Regions from separate parts of the Homo sapiens genome. Here region 2 is linked to region 1. Evidence: promoter capture Hi-C in human tissues and cell types (Jung and others, 2019). All regions are on one chromosome and are shown on one strand. The core of a region is centred on a gene start or on the middle of the fragment in contact, and the rest is flanking DNA. Distances in the headings are between cores, read along the strand shown.

The links. Contacts are between HindIII fragments. The study calls those that stand out against the background at their distance.
Region 2: a fragment that was not itself captured here is called in contact with the fragment with the promoter of TBX18 in region 1 in 2 of the 25 tissues and cell types used here (H1 embryonic stem cells and mesendoderm cells).

Annotation. Positions count from the first base shown.
Region 1 is chr6:84,761,515-84,768,594 of GRCh38, reverse strand. TBX18 (T-box transcription factor 18) reads left to right here and starts at 3,997. Exons shown (of 8, transcript NM_001080508.3): 1 at 3,997-4,705; 2 at 5,847-6,051. The coding sequence starts at 4,414. It overlaps LOC124901353 (a long non-coding RNA gene), which reads right to left and starts at 6,254. Exons shown (of 2, transcript XR_007059666.1): 1 at 6,109-6,254. RefSeq lists enhancers at 3,790-4,084, 4,096-4,679, 4,680-5,264. The HindIII fragment of the contact is 5,576 bases long and covers 758-6,333 here.
Region 2 is chr6:85,109,500-85,116,579 of GRCh38, reverse strand. No RefSeq gene overlaps it. Among named protein-coding and RNA genes, the nearest start is that of LINC02535, 290 kb to the left of the region's middle. The HindIII fragment of the contact is 3,254 bases long and covers 2,141-5,394 here.

The DNA.
Region 1 (7,080 bases), core at 2,748-5,247:
GTAGGCTGATGTTCACGGTCTCCAATTAGGCTATGGCTCCTTCCCAGATTAAACTATAGAGGAACGCAGCCAAATAAGTACCCCTCTTGGTGTTTGGATTTGGCCGTTGCCCACCCATACTCTCCGTCCCATTTCTGCTTCTAGCTCACTTCATCTTTTACTAATAATAAACTTCTCTATGTGTGGCAAAGAAGTCTGGGTCCGGATTATTTGGAGACTCGGGGACCATTTGATGTGCCCTGAGATCAGGGGCAAAGAACAGATTCTTGTCTGAACAGACTCAGGGCTTACCTTATCGAGTCTGAGAAATTAAATATAGGGGTTAAATACAGCGAGTGTCAAGTGTAAAAGAAAAAAAATCAATCTTTCGAAGGAATGAAGACCGGACGCATAGAGCTTTAACAATTATAACTTAAAAAAGAAACAATTGTTTATAAATAAAATGTAAGTATCTTATAAATCAGGTAAGATGAAATAGCAAACTATACACAACTGGCCATGTATCAATGCTATGTAAACAGGCTCCAGGCTAAAAAGCAGAGTGGAAGCCGACAGAGAATGAGTTTAAAACAACAACAACAAAAAAGCACTATTTCGGAACTGTCCAATTTTAAACTGCACCAAGAAAAATAAAGAAGAGACCGGATATGCTTTTTAAAAGTCCATCTCCCGCCCCTGCACGCCCCCTCCCACCAGTTAGTGTTGCTGTCCGGCAGGACATGGATTCCACTGTATATCGTTGTCCCAGATCTGGGAGCTCAAGGATCTTTTGCCCTTCTCTCTCTCCCCAAGTCCTTGAGACTAATTCATTCTGACAATATTCTCCTCTGGCTGACTTTTATTTAACATAGAATCCGGCTGGTCTTGAGAGAGGCCTGACAGTTTATTTCAGTTTTGTTTCCTCAATGTAGCTCAATACTGGGAAAAGACATTTTAATCTCCTAAAGCAACAGAAGACACACATTCTCAGGTACTTAGACCCCAACTGCCAACAGACACATTTACACTTGAGCAGGTGCACATGCTCACGCACACATGCAAACACAGACACGTGCACACGCGCGACCGGACATTGCGATTACGCGCCCTGTCCCCGCTTTCTTTGCTCTCTTGACTTGCAAAGTGCGAGGGCCTGGCGCTCTCCTCGAAAGGGCATGCCGCGCTGTTGGTAAAAGGCCTTGCTAGGACGAGGCTTTGCTGTCACTCGTCACTCTCAAGGCTGCCACTCCGCCCAGCCAACTCGGAATGTCTTTCCCTCCCATGCCCAAGAGAGATTCGACGCCCCTTCTCCAGGAGCCGAGGTTGGAGTGGGCTGCAGTCTGTGACACACTGCCCCTCGGGACCTGGGTTAGCTGGTCCTGCCCAATCCAGTAGCCTGAGCCGAACTTAACGCAAGTTGGAGGCGGCGGCAGCAGTGGTGCGGCTCTACTGCTATGATTCTCCTTAGCCAGTAGCAGGACTAGGGGGCAAACGCCTTGTCCTGTCCTCGGCGCCCTACTCACACTTGAATTATTTCTAAGGGCCACGTTCTAGAAACATCGTGGATGTAGACGAGGCTCTGCTTTCCAGCCTTTCGGCAATGCGGACACCAGTCCCCGGGTTTCCCCGCCTGCTGGGGTCTGCTGCCCAGGGTGAAGGCGAAAGACATAAAGAAATGGCAGAGGAAAAGAAGAGGGCGTGAGGCTGTATGATCCCGAGAGCGCCTTGCAGGCCTGTGTATCCCTTTCTAAATCAGTTTGAGCTGCAGGACATATACAGGGAGAACTCCTTTGCGGAACAGGCTTTGCGTCAGCAAACAGTGTTTGTCCCTGGCAGTTTCTCCCAGGGTAGGGGCTCCCACTACCCCTGCTGAGCCCCAGCAGGCCCGAGGGCTCCGACGACTACACCCCTGGGCAGCAGCAGAGTCTCCAAAGCTGTAAGGACCGCTCGGAGAAGCACCGGGTAGCTCCCTTCTTGGGGTCCCCGAGAGCCTGGGATTGGGGCGGGGCACCTCAGCTGAACGGAACTTCTTCTGGCGTCTACTCCAGCTAAGTTAGCTCCCGCCTTGTCCCACTCCCACTCCCGGCCCAAACTCTCTAGGCGGCCTCTTAGCTCTCCCTGCCGGCGCCTGCCTTCGGCTAAGCTTCAGAAATGGGATTTGCGCTTCTTTTTAATGATGTAATACCGGCCTAGGGTACCCCGGAGCTTGGAGACCCACTAGGGACCACACAGCTCTAAACCGGTCGCAAAGCCTTCATTTTGTAAAATGCAAAACACCTCCTCCCAACTGAGTTTGTTTCTCAGGCGTCTAAAAGAGGCTTCCTCCGCAAGGATATTACAAAATCATTTTTGACCTCAAGGCTGCCAGGTTTGGCTGGGCGGCTTGCTCGTGCCTCTGCTCATCGCCTGCCAGGTTCCTACTCCCGCTGTGGTGTCCGGCCTCCAGGAACCGCGCGTTCTCTTCTACAATAAAAGGATCAGTCTCAGTGGCGGATCTACCCCCAAATGCTACTCTACTGAAAGTTTACAGAGAAGTCAGAGATAAAAGGGCAGCCAACGGTTGCGGAGATTGAATTAAACGAGGGACGAGGGAGAGGAAAAAATTCCTTTGTCATATATATATATATATATATACACACACACACATATGGAGACAGAGAGAGAGACAGAGACGGAGTCTTGCTGCGTCGCCAGGCTGGAGTACAGTAGCGCGATCTGGGCTCACTGCAACCTCCGCCTCCCGAGTTCAAGCGATTCTCCTGCCTCAGCCTCCCGAGTAGCTGGGACTACAGGCGTGCACCACCACGCCCAGCTACTATTTGTATTTATTTATTTATTTAGTAGAGACGGGGGTTTCACCATGTTGGCCAGGATGGTCTCGATCTCTTGACCTCGTGATCCGCCCGCGTAGGCCTCTCAAAGTGCTGGGAATACAGGCGTGAGCCACCGCGCCCGGCCTGCCGTGTATTTTATACAAAAGATGGAGTAATATGCACGATTAATTTTATTCCACAAGAGATTTGCTCTATTTATACCAAACATATATATATATATTTGTTAATCCTAACAAAAAGTCGAGTTGAAACTACAAAACAAATTGTACAAATATATATGTTTGGTGTCATTTAATTAAAAAGCACTGATTTTATTAAATTTGTTTTAAATACATCAATGGACTCCTTAAAAGCCTGAAGTAACGATTGTAAATTGTCAACAGTAGGACAAATATAAACTTACTTAAATCACAGAGAAGTTTTTCAAATGGGGAATTTTATTGCGTCTTCATACTTATTTCATTTTGCGAAGTTTTAAGGGGTTTTAAAGTTGTCCATATCGTTAAAGACGTACAGAATGAAAATCCCATGACCTACGTTTTAAAATAACTACCACTCTTTGAAAGAAAAGGTGGGCTGCGGAAAGGGCGTGCTTTTTCTGACATTTATATGACGGACTGAGCGTTAACGTAACATTTTGCACTCCTAAAGGATTTACATATTTCTTAACCTGGTATCCCCTAAGAAAAAAATCACGGAGTAAAGTTTAAATAAGCCTAAGCCATATCTGGCGCAGACTGAGTGCAGGAACATTTAAATGAGAAAGGAGGGGCCTGCGAATTCTTCCCAGCTTCCCAATATTCTGAGTTGTAGCAACATTAAGCGATACGGAAGTGGGACGGCAATTTACGGAACCTTGAAAGATTCCTGATTTTCTAACTTGTTGAACGTCTAGTTTAAAGCCGGGAACTTCCGCCTTTCCAGGTCCTGGTGAGGAAAGCTGGAGACTACGGGGCTGGACTCAGCTACGGACGTCAGAGAGACAGAGTTCAGCGTCCGTGTGGCTGGCACATCCAAGCCAGACAGCGGCGCTTTTCACTCCTGGTTTTTCGCTACCTTGTAAGGAAGTGGGCGCGGGCTGCGCGGAGTCGGCGCCTCCTGATTGGCCGGCCGTCTGGGTGATGGACAGGGACCCGGGCTCCGCCCCCGCCGCTTTATTGACACTAATGAGCAAGTTCTTCCCACCGCTCTCCTGCCTGGAAGTGCTGACAGATCAAGGCAACAAATTTCAATTACAATCCCTAATTTGTGTCCACAGAGTGTTTTTTACCCATGTTAGTCCTCTCTGGCGCATCAGTTGAGGCAGACCTCGGAGCAGCAGGAGGAGGTGGAAGGGGTGGGAGCAAAGGAGTGCATCAGTGAGAGAGCGCGCGAGAGAGACCCAGGAAAGGAGACTTGGCCGGCGCGTCGCCGGTTCCTGGATCCCAACACAAGCGAGAAAGCGGAAACGCCAAATCTGTTTTTTGCCCGCGGTGGGGAAGGGGGCAGATCTCGGGAGGCCCCGAGAGCCTTTTAGTTTTTGGTGGGGGAAGAGCGAGAGCGCGCGTGTGCCCGCGTGAGTGTATATGAGAGAGGGGCGGGCGGGCGCGGGGCGGGGGGGATGGCCGAGAAGCGAAGGGGCTCGCCGTGCAGCATGCTAAGCCTCAAGGCGCACGCTTTCTCGGTGGAGGCGCTGATCGGCGCCGAGAAGCAGCAACAGCTTCAGAAGAAGCGGCGAAAACTGGGCGCCGAAGAGGCGGCGGGGGCCGTGGACGACGGAGGCTGCAGCCGCGGCGGCGGCGCGGGCGAAAAGGGTTCTTCTGAGGGAGACGAAGGCGCTGCGCTCCCGCCGCCGGCTGGGGCGACGTCTGGGCCGGCTCGGAGTGGCGCAGACCTGGAGCGCGGAGCCGCGGGTGAGTGGGCCCCTTCCTGCCTATAACTTCTCTCCGGCGCGAACCTGAACTTCTGCGAGTCTGTGGGTGTGCGTGCGCGCCGCGTCCCTACATGGCCAAGGCCACTCAGCCACTAGCGCATTGGCCGTGTCAGTCGCAAAGCTCGCCGCGCAACCTGGTCACCCTCCAGACGGTTCAGATACTGCTTCCAGGCTCGCCTCGCGGGCGGCCGCCGCCCACTCGGCGACCCGCGCCTTCGGCCGCGGCTGTTTGCTGCGCCTAGCGGTGCAGCTCTGTGCTTCCTGCATCTGCCTCCCTTGGGGTTCCAGCCAATGGGTGCTCTTTTTTGTTTCCTAACTTTTAAAAGCACAGGGCGGGGAGGAGGGGAGCGACGGCATACCCCACCCTGAAACCGGAACGAATGCCCTAAACCGTTTGTGCAAACCAGGAAGAGGGCGGCATATTTGGAAACTTGGTTTCCCGAAGGGTAGTTGAGCGGTTCCCTTCCCTTCTCCTCTTGATTTCTCTGCCAAGGCCGACGGCGACCGCGGGCTTGCTTTTCACACTTTTCTCTGCTGGGCTGGAAGCGCAGGGCGCCGGGAGTTTGGCGAAAGCGGGGTCTGAAGAGCCTTCTAGAAGATGCCTCCGGCCCGGCCCAAAAGAAGGCCCAAAGCGAGGCGCCGCAGACGCTTATGGCTTAAGGAGGCCCAGGCTCTTGGGACCAGAGTCCGGGCGCTTTTGCTGCTTGCGCTTCGAGGCGCAGGTTGCGTCGGAGTTTGCACTGGGGACTCTGGACCCGGGAGCTCCTCTGACTCCGTCGGGCAAGCGTCCCAGACCCCGGCGGCGGCGTGAAGCCTTTTCTGCTGGGGCCTTGGCCCTGCGGAGGCCCAGCGGGTGGGGTGGACGCTGCCCGCGCGCCTCTCCCGGGCTTGGGACTTGGGGACCAAGCAGGCCACACTGGAGCTCTGAATGCGCCCCTTCGACAGGCAGAATGTGGGTGTCTATCGACTGGCTTGTTCTTTAGGAGGACCTGATGGCACCAAAGCTTCCCCTTTTCTCCCGGTCATTTTCCTCTTCTCAGCCACCAGGTGGGCCCGTCTCCGCGGCTGGCTTCCCCTCTGTTTCCCTCACCAGTTCCCTTTCTCTGTCCTTTGCTGTCCAGGCGGCTGTGAGGACGGCTTCCAGCAGGGAGCTTCCCCTCTGGCGTCACCGGGAGGCTCCCCCAAGGGGTCTCCGGCGCGCTCCCTGGCCCGGCCCGGGACCCCTCTGCCCTCGCCGCAGGCCCCGCGGGTGGATCTGCAGGGAGCCGAGCTCTGGAAGCGCTTTCATGAGATAGGCACTGAGATGATCATCACCAAGGCCGGCAGGTAATGGGCAAGCTGGCGTGGACGCCCCTCCCTACCCCAGACCCTGTCTTCACTCACCTCTAGCTCAATCAGGAAGAAGGGCCTGCAGCTCGGTGGGGGTTCTGGATAGCATTTTCGGTCAAACGGGACCAGGCCCCAGACCGTGGTTCACTTTGGAGGCTAGCTTTGGCTACCCACCACTAGTGCAGTCGGTGCACAGTCCAACTGCCCTCTGGTTGAATGCCAGGGAGAAAATTACTGTCGCCGCTGATGCCACAGCTGTCGCGGTTGATGTTCTGCGTTCAGGGCGGTTATAAATTTGAGGTCATATTTACCCTTGTCCAGGTATTTATTTAGGCTCTAGTTGTCAGTTCTGGAACTAGGAAACATTCTTTTTTTTTTCCTTTCTCTTTTATTTTTAAACAGCAGTTTACTCCAGTAAACTATGATTTGCTTTTTCAGATTTGAAACTCCCAGGCAGATTGGTTCTTTATCAGAAGATATCCTGGCAATTTGATAAGATGATCTGTCCTGCTATTTCATATTAGACTAGGAGGAAAAGTCACTGGACTCACCCACAATACATGTTTAATCATGTATAGGTGCAAGAATAATTACCCTGATTTTTAAAAAGCATCCTGTTTATAGATTTAGAGTACCTGGTTATTTATTTATTTATTTTTGTCCTAAATGGAATCCAACACAGCCTGAATTTGCTGAGGAATACTTAAAAATTTTTTATAAAAAGGTACATCGGTTTTTTAAAAAGTGTGAAATTTTCCCATCCATTGGTTAGTAAAATAAATGGATTTGTTGGGCAGATCATATTAATTTGAGGTAGGCACATGAATATTTGCATTTTAAAGTTTTCAGTTTATTTAGTGCAGTGAAATCTATGAATAATAAGCTTCCTTAAACGGAACTTTAGAAAGCACACACAACTCTTTCAGGGAGTACACATGGTAAAAACCTGGATAGCATAAAAAGTATCCAAACTTATTAGAAATTACAAAAAAACATATTTTATTGAATCCATATGCTACCTTCTAC
Region 2 (7,080 bases), core at 2,518-5,017, 350 kb before region 1:
CTCCCTTTTCACAAATGAGGAAACCAGAGCTAAATGCGAAAAGGTACTCGACCAAGATCATAGAATTAACTCTTGGAGGAATCACATCTGATTGTTGCCTATTTATGTTTTCAGAGTCCAAACAGTTCCCCTGCCCCCACCATATCGCCTGTCCCTCTCTGTAAGCCTGTCTTTTCCTGTTTGGATGACCTGGTTTTCTTATTCTTTATCAAAGACTATAAAGTTTCTTTTGCTGGGTCACAGCTACTCTGATTAGCCAATTTATGTTCACATATTAATGGGTTCGTGGGCTACTATCATTGTCTTGTGACATAATTATTAAGTGTTTTCTCTTTTATCTTCATTCTGAAATGATAAAGTTTTTCTGATTGAGTTTCACTGTTTGCCTTGCAGCTCTTAAGTGATGCCAAAGTAACCAGTCAGTTCATTAAGAAAAACAAATCTGTCAAGGGATGTGGAACAAGCAGCTGCTTGACTGACAATGTTATTTTCTTTCCCCTGGTTTGGTTGGCATACGATGGACCCAACCACAGAATCTTAAGTACTTATTTTTAAAAATTTACCACTGAAAGGCATCCAATCAGGGTGGCTTTCAACGTGCACACAGTAATGCCATTCATCACATCTGGCTCTGAGAAGGACACAGCACTGTGGGGTTTTAGAGACTGAAGTCTCACACAGGCCCTCCCACTCCTTAGCCTGACCCTACACCTCCCCAAGCTACATCCTTCTGGTCCCCAGAGCTCTCTTGGGAACAAGATGGAGACTTTTCTTTTTCTCTACTGAGACTTTCCAAAGCTTGGGGCACCTACTGTGCCGGGTATCTGTGTTAGGGAGAGGACCCTGGATCTGATAGACTCAGGAAACAGGTAGCAGGGCCTTCGGTTGCTTCTCTCCACCCAAAGCTGCCTCTCCCAACAGCTGCAACTGCTAAAACAATCTTGTTCTTTTGTTTTCCACACTTAAAGAAAGGCCTTCAGCCAAACTGTCGCCTCTGACCTTGTTTTATATTTCCAATGTGCATTTTATTAACTCCTTTTTCATATGGTACATGTGGAGCCTGCCACCAGATGAAAAGGAGGCACATTTCACAATTCTGATGGAAACAGCAGCTCCCTAGGAACAATTTTTGTAACAAATATATCTTTCGTGTCGATCCAAGTTTCATTTGGGTAAATGAGCTCAATGCATACGTGATAAAAATGCATTGAAGTTGTGCAAATCAATTAATTAAAAAAAGATACAAATAAACCTACCATTAACCATGCATTTGCAGCCTTCTTAGAAGTTATTTTGACCAGTAGATAATTGAAGAGCACTAAATGGATATATTCTGTTGTCATGGTCATGGTGGAACTTTAACTTTTATTCTTCAACTTGGCAATTGACTACGGCTGAATTAGGAAGAAACTGGAGTACTGTATAGCCTTAAAAAACTGAGCCAAATAAAAATTCATCTTGCATACACTTTCATTGATTTCTAACAGCCCTGTTCTTTATAGAACAACAGCCGGGAAAATCATTTCTGTCTATGGAGGAATGATATACTGCCATTAAAAAAAAAAAGTTAGCCACCCCCCGGCGCCCCCGCCCCCGCCCCCGCCCCACTTTCTTCCCCTAGGACTGTGTGCCTGTGTGCAGGGGTGTCTACCTAATTGGCCACAAGAGGGAATTAAACTAAATAAAATCACTATCCACGGGGGGCCTCTAAATATGCCTTTTTAATTTGAAAATTTTTGTGGGTTATAGTGTAATTCAAGCTTTTCAAGGTTTATTAGTGCATAGTTGTTCACAGGGCTCACAGAGCTCAAGACTCCAAGTCTGATACACTCTCCGCTGCTAACACAGAAAGCCAAAGTGCCTTTCATCTGCCGAACGCATAAAGTGACACAACTCCTTAAAAAAAACTCCCTCAAATAAAATGCATATTAATAAAAGTGACTGAAGGGAGTTGAAGTTGGTAATTTGTGCTGCTGACTTGACACGGTGTTCGTCATTGCCTGTCTGAGGAACTATGACAATTCATTACCTTTGCAGGGAACGCACCGTGCTGATGATAAAGACGTTGCTCTCAGATACGCGTAAATGCCCGTGACCTGACGCGTTTGCTGTGGTCCGCGTCAAAACACGCCGCTCTGTGTAATTAATTGCTGCGAGAGGAAGCGGACCAATGGCGCCTTCTGCTGTGAAACTGTTAATGGAGAACTTATGGAGAGAAAGTCAAGTCCTCCTATCCAAATTGGAATGTGAAAGAAATCTGTTGGAAGGTGATGACAGAAATGAAGTAAAACAGTTGTTTCCTGATCCGCGTGCCAGGTGTGTCACATACTGTGATAAATAAGATCTGCGTCTTACACTCCAGAAATTGGGGAATATTACAAGCGTTTATTATAGTAAGGTACAAAAAACGCACTTGAAATGCTTTGTTTCTCCTGGCACCAAACAGTGAGCAGTTATTGCACAATGCCTGGAGCTGCTAATTCCTTTGTTTAGGTTTAAGCCAACACGGCCTATTAAAAGCTTAAATTCAATTTTATTGTTAAGGTATTTATTAACTGATTATGAAAAGACATTAAAAGACTCATAATTAAACTACTAAGTTGTTCCTTACCTTGGTTAATTCTCTCCTTTTCTTACACAATAGAAAATATCCTTGTGTTTTGAGGTAACTGTTCACTCCCTTGACATTATTTGCTTCAGCTCTCACCTCTGCGCCAGCCAGAGCCTTAAATTAAAGATATCTGTGAAAGCCAGTAGGTTATGGTTACAAGCATTTCCCCATAGCTACGGTGTGTGCAGTGCTTATGTTTAACTTTAAGACCATTGCCATGTTTCACCCGAGGAGGGAATGTGAATGATTCGTGGCAACAATTTTTAAATTGCCTTACTGATGTTTTACTTGTTAAAAGTCTGTTGCCAAATGGTACATGTGTACGTGTGGGCACATACACAAGCCAGGGCTTCACCAGGGTACCCACCTCTGTCTTCTTCATGGAATGATCTTAGTCTTGCTAAAATGATAATTCCACTGAAATTACTTTTCTTTCTTATTTTTTTAAAGCCTCAAAGTATTTTAATGTACTGTATTTCATTTACCAATTGTTTTATCTAAAAACTGCAAAAGATATATGACATTTTCTTACTAAGAACAAAAGAAAAATTTTATGAAAAATTATTGGAAATCCTGACTATACATTATAATCTTTTTGACTATATAAAAATCTAAATTTATTTTATGTGTATATATATATATATATATATATATATATATATATATATATACAATATTTTGATAATGGAACTTATGCATTTAAACTGTTTACTAAGTTTGTCAATAGCAATGATTACTCCTTGAATAAACTTCATTGATTGCAATACCACCAGTAGTCAAAGCGGGATTTAAAACTTCAAAAAAAAAGGGGGAATTGCAGTAACTTTGAAAACACAAGATATTTAGTTACTGTTGAATTATATATTTTATTAAAATCTTCCATTTCAGAGCCATATCCCCCTGCTACTGTGCAGTCATTTAAAATTGGTTTGAAAGTTGAGGAAGCCTAATTCTTAAAGGGGCCCCCTTACGCATATTAAGGAAGTTAAACACAACACTTAAGTTAGAATTGCCGGCATTATGAGTCAAAAAATTATAAAATGCCAACTACAGCTGTTTCTCTTAAAGGTATCAACTATAATTTTTGTAGTTTATGCATATTATCACAAATTTATAGACAGTACTGAAATTTTGAAGGAGATCTCAACTTCTTTTAAAAAATTATATGTGTGGGGCGAGTTTGAGATAATTGAAAACTTGATATTTAACTTTTTAAAAGTGCTGAGTCACTGCTAACTTCCAAAATTTAAAATTAATGCTCACTAAAACTAATATCTTTACCCTGCACAGCAGACTCAGTTTAAAGTTATCAAGATGAGAATTTCCTGTTTGCCATTTAAAGTTGTCTTATTTCATGAAAACATTACTTGAGAAACAAGTAACTATAAGCTTTTCTTTTTAAGTTGTTTCTCATAATCAATAATATTTTAAAACATAATTAATATTTTAGATGATATTCTTTGTGCAGCATTTGTTCAGAAAAGGTTAAAATTATTTTATCTAAATTATTTTTGTTTTAATCAATCATTTTCCTTTCGTTCATTAAAGAACCTATAAAAGTGGGATTTTGTAGTTACTTGCATCTTGAAAATGTAACATTAGCCTGTTTATTTCTCAGTCTTTCAGTAGGGAAGATTTCATTCGTTCATTCAGTCGCTGCTTCCACAGTATTGGTTATTTATAATGGGTACTTCCAAATCCTGCAGACTTACAATAGTGAAAACACAGTTCTTGTCCTTGAAAATCTTGGCTGAACCGAGATTTGGATATAAAAAAAGGACTTGGGAGAAAATATGGCCCAATTACCTATTTTATTTCTGCAAACTTAGAGAGGGAATCCAGAAGAAAATAATCTATAAATAATTCAGACTTGGCTGTGGATAAAACCATCTACCAAACTTTTTAGTTTCTCATTCCACTAATTGGTCTCTGGGCCTCCCTTTTGTGCTTTTGTCTACCGTCCTTTCTCCAACTCTCACACCACATGAATCACGTTCAATGCATCCACAGCCCGCAACCCTTCTATAATTGTTCCTGAAGTCCAACCAGTGTCAAACCACAGCCTCTCTGCGTCTAGATGGTTTGCTTTGGCCAGAAGAAAACATAATTCCCACAAAGAGATGTATCTATTTCTGTGACCTCCCCTACTGAGTCTGTGTTGTGTTCCATGCTTAAAGAAGGCTTTTGGACAAAATAGGCAGCTGAAGAACAGCTCCCACATCCCTTCAGAAAGGCCCCCCCATCCCCGGCCCTGGGGGTTTAATGGGAAGAATGATGCAACCTAGAGGAGCTGTCTTTTTACAAGAGCACCTCCCCCTCACTGCCCCAAGCCAACAGTATTTGCCAGGCAAATATTATCCAGTGCCGGGCCTCAGCCAGCCTACCTCCCACTGCCTGAATCAAGGCCTGTTGGCAGCTACAAAAGTGAGGTGTCGCTGACTGATGCATAATTATGGTGGACAGAAAAATGTAGACGTGTTAGCAAAGTCAATATTATGGAGACCCCTGTCTTCCCAAATATTGTAAGTAAAAGATATTTCTAGGGTATAGCCAATTACATTCTCTATTTTTACGACCAGTCACAAATGTATTTTTTATTAGCTGGTGTGTTCAATGTTTTGAATGCATAGCCCTTATTTCAATCTCATTTTAGTTTGTAGTAAGTGCAAAAAGATTTTTGCTGACTTGAAATAGTGAAGCTGCTCTCTTTTAACTGAACTTCAGGGCCTGTCACCCTGAGAGTTTATTCCACAGCCTTCTGCGACTCTTGCCTGTAAATTAGTCTGTGAAGTGGTGTTTATTGCTGAATGGGGAGGTTAAGACAGCCTAATTATATGTTTGTGCAGGAGAAAACACCATGCCCCACCGTGAGCAATTATATTGTCCCCTTTTTATAGTTTAATCTAGCTTCAGCTAAGAAGAATGAGGAGATACCCTGTCTTCACCAGCAACTTAGCTACCACACATTTTCAGTGTTAATTAGAAATTTTGTTCAATGAAAGAGTGACTTCTTAGCATAACTCAGCCTTCAGCCAATCAGAGGGCATCTGGTAAGGCAACTTGAGGTGTCTTTGTAGATTAGATCTCTAATTCCACCCACGAGGCAACACATGGGTGGGACTCTTGCCACACTCTCAAGTTTGTTTCATGGTGCAATTTTCCTTTTTTATACATTTAAAGCAGTGAATGTTCTATATGGCAGGAGAGAGACTATTAGGATACTGGGGCTCTGTGTAGATTTTTTTTTTTTGGAAATAAAAATCTTGCTTTTCCTAAGGGATTTTTTCTTATGTTAAGAAGGATGTAGTGAATAAAAACCAGAACAAGATCAACAGGTCAATGTCTTTAAAGTTGGTCATAAAATGTATCACAACAAAGAGCCTGTAGGATAGGAATTGCATGCTGAAATACCTCTGTCTTTGTTCTTGGACACTTCTCTGTCACAAGGGCAGAATACTTCTGTTTCTTTTCAAAAGCATTTGGCTCATATTTTTCATACACAGGCACATGCTGAAGTCTTACGATGCATAGGTTCAATTTCCTCTTAGGAAAATAAAAGATGCCCTTCATGTCTTCTCGCACTCAACTAGAAATGCTCATTGTCATTGAAACGAGCTGAGGGAAGAACCAGTTCTCTAGGAAACAGCATCTCAGTCTGGTCCAATCTGCCTGATGTGATGGGTTGCCTCTAGGGAAATAGACTTCTCGTTATTAGCAAATTTCCAAGCTATCACTCAGTTTCCCTTCTCCTTATCTCATTTCTATGAGTTTTGTTTCTAGAATGATATAATATCTCTCTTCCCAACCCCTTCGAGCTCTCAACTTTCTTTGCCTCTTAAGACTTAAGCAAGATCTCCTTTCCCCATTGGCTAGCTCTTCTGGGCTTTTTATTAGCTTAATTTAGTTTCTACCTTTCTTTTGTAAGGCAAGTTATTCAAACACTGTGCTTGAGATACAGACATAAAAATCTGGGAGCAGTATGGAAAGGCAATTTAATTCTTTCCCACTTATTTTAAAAACTAAAACCTTCCCACCATGTTGTAGAACAGCTAAACACTTTAGGGAAATCTTTAATAAGTATATTCCGTGTTTCTCTTCTTCTCTGCTTATCAAAAGAAAGTGATTTGGGTGGATGGAAGCTGGCAGAGCTGTTTGTAGTTTCTTCATTATTTTAAGCTTCTTTAAAAAAAATTATCAAAAGACTATATACTTATCCCAGTGAAATCATATGAGGCTCCCCAAACACTCTCCTCCTATTCTATGAAATGCCATTGTCTTTTTTTTTTTTTTTTGCTGGAAGCACTAATCTTTTGGCTGGCCTATCAGATTGTAAGCTCATTTATTCAGCAATTATGTGTTGAACACCTTCTGTGTGCCAGGCTTTATTCACATAAATGACATGTGCCATGCTGCTGGTTTCTTAGGCTTCTTCCTCCTCTGCTAGAGCACATTACTGTTTTTTGACATAT